Regions from separate parts of the Homo sapiens genome. Here region 1 is linked to region 2. The links are contacts of gene promoters, found by promoter capture Hi-C in human tissues and cell types (Jung and others, 2019). All regions are on one chromosome and are shown on one strand. Each heading gives the region's core, a stretch centred on a gene start or on the middle of the fragment in contact. The rest is flanking DNA. Distances are from core to core; before and after follow the strand shown. Region 1 holds the start of MIR4487 (microRNA 4487). Region 2 holds the start of ACP2 (acid phosphatase 2, lysosomal).

Evidence for each region. The method cuts DNA at HindIII sites, captures the fragments that hold promoters and counts their contacts. A contact is called where the count stands out against the background at its distance.
Region 1: a fragment that was not itself captured here is called in contact with the fragment with the promoter of ACP2 in region 2 in 6 of the 25 tissues and cell types used here (H1 embryonic stem cells, IMR-90 fibroblasts, dorsolateral prefrontal cortex and 3 more).

The regions. Positions count from the first base shown.
Region 1 is chr11:47,398,377-47,401,076 of GRCh38, reverse strand. The region is part of intron 2 of SLC39A13-AS1 (SLC39A13 antisense RNA 1); the gene reads left to right. MIR4487 (microRNA 4487) reads right to left here and starts at 107; the gene lies at 35-107. RefSeq lists an enhancer at 1-639 and a silencer at 689-1,048. The HindIII fragment of the contact is 6,212 bases long and covers 1-2,700 here.
Region 2 is chr11:47,247,511-47,250,210 of GRCh38, reverse strand. It overlaps ACP2 (acid phosphatase 2, lysosomal), which reads left to right and starts at 1,397. Exons shown (of 11, transcript NM_001610.4): 1 at 1,397-1,535; 2 at 2,078-2,173; 3 at 2,484-2,570. The coding sequence starts at 1,422. It also overlaps a transcript of NR1H3 not described here. RefSeq lists a silencer at 954-1,121 and enhancers at 1,202-1,711, 1,842-1,931. The HindIII fragment of the contact is 13,067 bases long and covers 1-2,700 here.

The sequences.
Region 1 (2,700 bases), core at 77-2,576, 150 kb before region 2:
CTCCTTGCCAGCTCTGGCTGAAGGACAGTTCCCTTCTGCCCTTCAGCCAGCTCTGGCTGAAGGACAGTTCCCTTCTGCCCTTCAGCCAGCTCTGGCTGAAGGACAGTTCCCTTCTGCCCTTCAGATGGTGTAAATAGCATCTCATTGTGGTCTGAATTTGCATCGCCCTCATCAGCAGTGAGGCTGAGCCTCCCTTAGATGGTATTTGAGCAAATTCGTTTTCTCTGCCCTAACATGCCTGCGCTGCGTGTGTGTTATCTATTTTTTTATATTGGATTGCTTGATTTTCTTTTCCTTGATTTGCAAGAGTTCCTTATGTATTTTTGAGGCTATGCCCCGCTGCACTCCGCAGGCATCTCCAGTTGTGACTTCCTTTTCACTTTCTCTGAGGTGTCTCCGCTTCTCTCTCCCCCCCCCACACCTGTCCCAGGGAGGCCACTTGGCATTGTTAGTGTGGGGGGAGGTCGTGTGCCTCTCAGAGCCCTGTTTAAACTGACTCCACTGTTCCTCTTGTCCCTGGGGCCTTAAGGAACCCCTTTCCTCTTCCTTCTCAGACCCCCTCCCATTTTTGGCGAAGACAACTTAGTTTGGGGAGCTCCTATTGGGTTGTGGGCGAGTATCCCGGGACAACTCGGGCCTCACTGCAATGGTGTCCCCCCCCCCCCGTCTCGGTTATTTATCACTTCCGGCTGCCCACCTGGGGGGGCTGGGCCCCCTCTCCGCTCGACTGGGCCGCAGCCGGGCAGCTCGGGCGCTCCCCTGGGGGCGGGCGGCGCGGGGGAGGGGCCCTAGGGGGGCGGGGCCGGGGGCCGGGCCTGCGGCGGGGGCTGGAGTTGGGGGGCGGAAGCTGCCGGAGCAGATAAGGGCCGAGGTCGGCCCTGCGGTGGGACAGTGCGGGACACCGCCTCCGCCCCCGGCCTCCCCAGAGCGCCCCCGCACCCTGGAGACCCCCTCCTGCTACCCAGGCTTGGCATCCCGGGAGGAGACCCCAGGGAGCAGTGGGGGATGAGGCTCCAGCCTGCTCACAGCCTCAGCGACGAGCGGCAGCGGGGCTTCACGCCTCAGTTATCTCAGCTGGAAAATGGGGGTAGGAGCTCGGTTTTCCCCACAGGGCTGTTGGTGATGGACCAAGTGCAGGCTTGTGAAGGTCTCTGTGGGTTGGGCGAGTTTTGAACAGAGGGTCCTCTAAGCATCGCATCGCCTCATTCATCCCCATTGTATAGATGGCAAAGTGGGGAGTTTCACCCAAAGCCCCAGAGCCAGCATGCAAAAAGCAAGTGGGAGGGGGTTGGAACGCTTTCCACCGCCCCACCCTGGGGACAGATCTAGGTTCCCAGGAGCCTGAAGCTTAAAACCATTTGGGGGGGCACTCTTTAAGGAAAAGATTACAAAGTCACAAATACAAAATTGCTGAGAGGCTGGGCGCAGTGGCTCACACCTGTAATCCCAGCACCTTGGGAAGCCAAGGTGGGCGGATCACTTGACGTCAGGAGTTCCAGACCAGCCTGGCCAACATGGTGAAACCCTGTCTCTACTAAAATACACAAATTAGCTGGACGTGATGGTGGGCGCCTGTAATCCCAGCTACTCGGGAGACTGAGGCAGGAGAATCGTTGAACCCGGGAGGCAGAGGTTGCAGTGAGCTGAGATGATCGCACCACTGCACTCCAGTCTGGGTGACAGAGCTAAACTCTGTCTCAAAACAAAAAACAAAAACAAAACAAAACAAAACAAAACAGCCGTTCGCGGTGGCTCACACCTGTAATCTCAACACTTTGGGAGGCCAAGGTGGGTGGATCACCTGAGGTCAGGAGTTCGAGACCAGCCTGGCCAACGTGGTGAAATCCTGTCTCTACTAAAAATACAAAACATAAAATAAAATAATTAGCCAGGCGTGGTGGCGCTCTCCTGTAGTCCCAGCTACTCGGGAGGCTGAGGCAGCAAAATTACTTGAACCCGGGAGGCAGAGGTTGCAGTGAGCCGAGATTGTGTCACTGCATTCCAGCCTGGGCAATAGAGTGAGACTTCATCAAAAAAAAAACCAAAAAAATAAAAAACAAAAACAAAATTGCTGAGACCCCTTCCAGGGCCTCAGAAGGAGCTGAGCCAGTGAGGAAGCTCAAATGCAGCTTTCTTAGTGTCTCAGCCCCACCATGCAGGCCCCCTGGAAGGGGTTATACCCCTCTCCCAAGAAAGTCAGACACCAACAAGCTTAGAGGGCAGGGTGGCCCAAGGCAATATGTCAGGGAGGTGCCGCTGCAGCTGGTCCCCAACCCCTTGCATGCCCAGGCAGCAGTCCCTCAGCCCAACCAAGAGCAAGGGCAGTCAGGTATTTGCAGACTGCAGCCTCAGCCAGGCAGGGCCAAGCCCTCCAGTCCCATCCAGTCATGGTTCAACTTGCCACCCAGGGCCCCAACCCTGCAAGCTAGGAAGGTACAGAAGAACTCCTAGGAGAAAAGGAAGGAGGGGCTCTCAGGTATATGTAAGTGCATGGGACTTGGAGTTAGACAGGATTGGGGTTCAAGCCCCTGCAAGGCTGTGTGACCTTGGGACATCTCTTTTCCCTGGGTTTCCTCGTATGTAAAATGGGAGTAATAATCGTACCTACTGGACAGAGCCGGTGCCTGAAGGAGGGCTGGGCCCATGGCTGTTAGAAACACATTTCCCTCCTGTGAGATCTCCAGGCCAGGAGAGGCATTT
Region 2 (2,700 bases), core at 148-2,647:
GGTCTCCAACTCCTGGGCTCAAGCAATCTTCCCACCCTGGCCTCCCAAAGTGCTGGGATTAGAAACGTGAGCCACCACACCAAGCCTAATCAGGTTTTTGTTGTTGTTGTTTTGAGACAGTCTCACTCTGTCGCGCAGGCTGGAGTGCAGTGGCGTGATCTCAGCTCACTGCAACCTCCGCTTTCCGAGTTCAAGCGATTCTCCTGCCTCAGCCTCCAGAGTAGCTGGGATTACAGGAGCACGCCACTGCACCCGGCTAATTTTTTTTTTTTTGTATTTTTAGTAGAGACGGGGTTTCGCCACGTTGGCCAGGCTGGTCTCGAACTCCTGACCTCAGGTGATCTGCCTGCTTCGGCCTCTCAAAGTGCTGGTATTACAGGTGAGCCACGGCGCCCAGGCCAAGCCTGATCAGTTTTGTTTCCCAAAGATCTGAGGAGATTTGCTTCCAGTAGGCAGATCTGAATCAAAGCATCCCCAGGACCTATGATCTGACCTGCAACCGTCACAGGAGTCACAAAGTCCTGAGGCCAAACTGGCTGCACCTGAATCCTAATGGTCAATGCCAAGAGGGCCATTGATTCTGTGGAAACCCCACCTACTCCCACTTTATGATATGCGCCTGTCCCTTACCTCAAAATACCTCCCCACTGGTCTGAAATTCCTCCCCCAGGGATTCAGTGCTTTGGGTTTGTAAAGTCTGAACATCCTGTGCAACCCAACTCCTTTGGGAAGAGGCATGACATGACGTCTTGACTCTAATTAACTAAAACTTGGAAGTGGAGGGGAGGGAGGACAGGGAAAGGACTGGAAGGGAAAGTGAGAGGGCTACTGAAGCTTTGTGCAGGGCAGGAACGGTAGGCCAGACTGGGGCAACCTCAAGGACACACGGAGTCCAAAGGGTTGTTTACATACTGTGTCCTGCACCCCAAGCAAAACATCTCCTGGAGAACAGGGCCAGGGCTCAATCTCCCCACAAAGGCAGGGGCGTGGAGAGAAGCGACCTCTACTTTCCCATCCCTCGCCTCAATTCTGCACCCGATCTAGCTATGGGGTCAAGCCTGGAGGGGACGCTGGTTCTCCAGACATGGTCCCGCCCACTGCAAGTGCCACCTTGGTAAGGGATTTCTCCGAGCAGAGGCAAACGCGAATTTGTGGCCTTCTTAATCAAGATGAGGTCTTCGAGCCCTGTCTGCCGCGCCAGGTCGCGTTACCTTCTTATGCTCCTCCGCCACAGCCAGACCACGACCCTCCTGCACGCAATCCCACCGAGACTGCGCCTTTTCCCCGCACCCCAGCAGGTCCCTAAGTAAGATGGCGGCGAACGCACTTCCGGCGTGTGTCCTTACGGGTGCGTCCGGGCGGCTGCTTGCAGGTGCCACCCAGCGGGTTCCAGCTTGTTTGCTGCATAGATTACAACGGTGATGGCGGGCAAGCGGTCCGGCTGGAGCCGGGCGGCTCTCCTCCAGCTCCTTCTCGGCGTGAACCTGGTGGTGATGCCGCCCACCCGGGCCCGGAGTCTGCGCTTCGTTACCTTGGTAATGAGAGATGGGCTCACCAAAGACTTCCCTGAAGCTAAAAGGGCAAAGGCCAGCTGGTGGAGGTCGAGGATCTCGGGAAGGAACAGCTGGTTTAGGAGGGGACGACTGGCCTGGGTAGTTGGGAGGCTGGATTCAGGATTGACCTGGAGCCCTGGCTTATGGGAGTCAGGATGACCGAATACGTCGGGGTGAGTCTGCCTTGAGACAGGGAAGTGGTTGAATGGTTAAGACTCATCCCTAAAGAAGCCTTTGGTTATCTTTTTTCCCCAGTTGTCCCCACCACATACGTTGCTTTCACTTCTCTTTTCCCTTCCTACCTGTACCTTGGCTTTGCCTATGGTCTCCAGTAGCATTGCTTAGCTAAGTTAGAATCTCTGGAATCTGGAAGAAGTGACTGACTCCTAGCTGGGGTCTTTTGCAGCCAGTAGGCTTCCCAGAGGGAATGAGACTTCCTTCCCTAACATGGGGCAAAAGGTAGGCTCTGGGTCCCTATCAAGGGGATGCTTCTGACCTATAGGCAAACCATTTTATTCTCTCAGCTGTACCGCCATGGAGACCGTTCACCAGTGAAGACATATCCCAAGGACCCCTATCAGGAAGAAGAATGGCCCCAGGGGTTTGGTCAGTTAACCAAGGTGGGTCAGAAGCCAGCCTTTCCTCAGGATGAGCTGCAGAATGAGCGACGTCTAGAGCAGTCTACAAAACTTGGGGTCCTACTAAACTGCCTTTTCCCATATGGGTGCTGACTTTGACCAGATTTCATAACCTTAATCTCTGTGCCCATGATATTGCTGTGCATGACTGGCCACTTAATGAAAGACTTCTGGGATCAGATTAATTGACTCCAGCAAAGCGTGAACCTGGAAAGCAACAGGGCCTAAACCCCATGGGGCTTGAAGCCACCCCTTCCCTCTAGACCCTCTTAACCCTTGGGTTTGCCCACAGGAGGGGATGCTACAGCACTGGGAACTGGGCCAGGCCCTGCGGCAGCGCTATCACGGCTTCCTAAACACCTCTTATCACCGGCAAGAGGTAAGGTTGGGAGCTCCAGAGGCAAGGGGAACAAGGTATGCTGCCCTCATCTTTTGCCCTCAGGGAGCCTAAGGCTGAGGCTGGGCACTTTGGCCTCCTTCTTGTATTTTTGGTCACAACTACAGGAAAA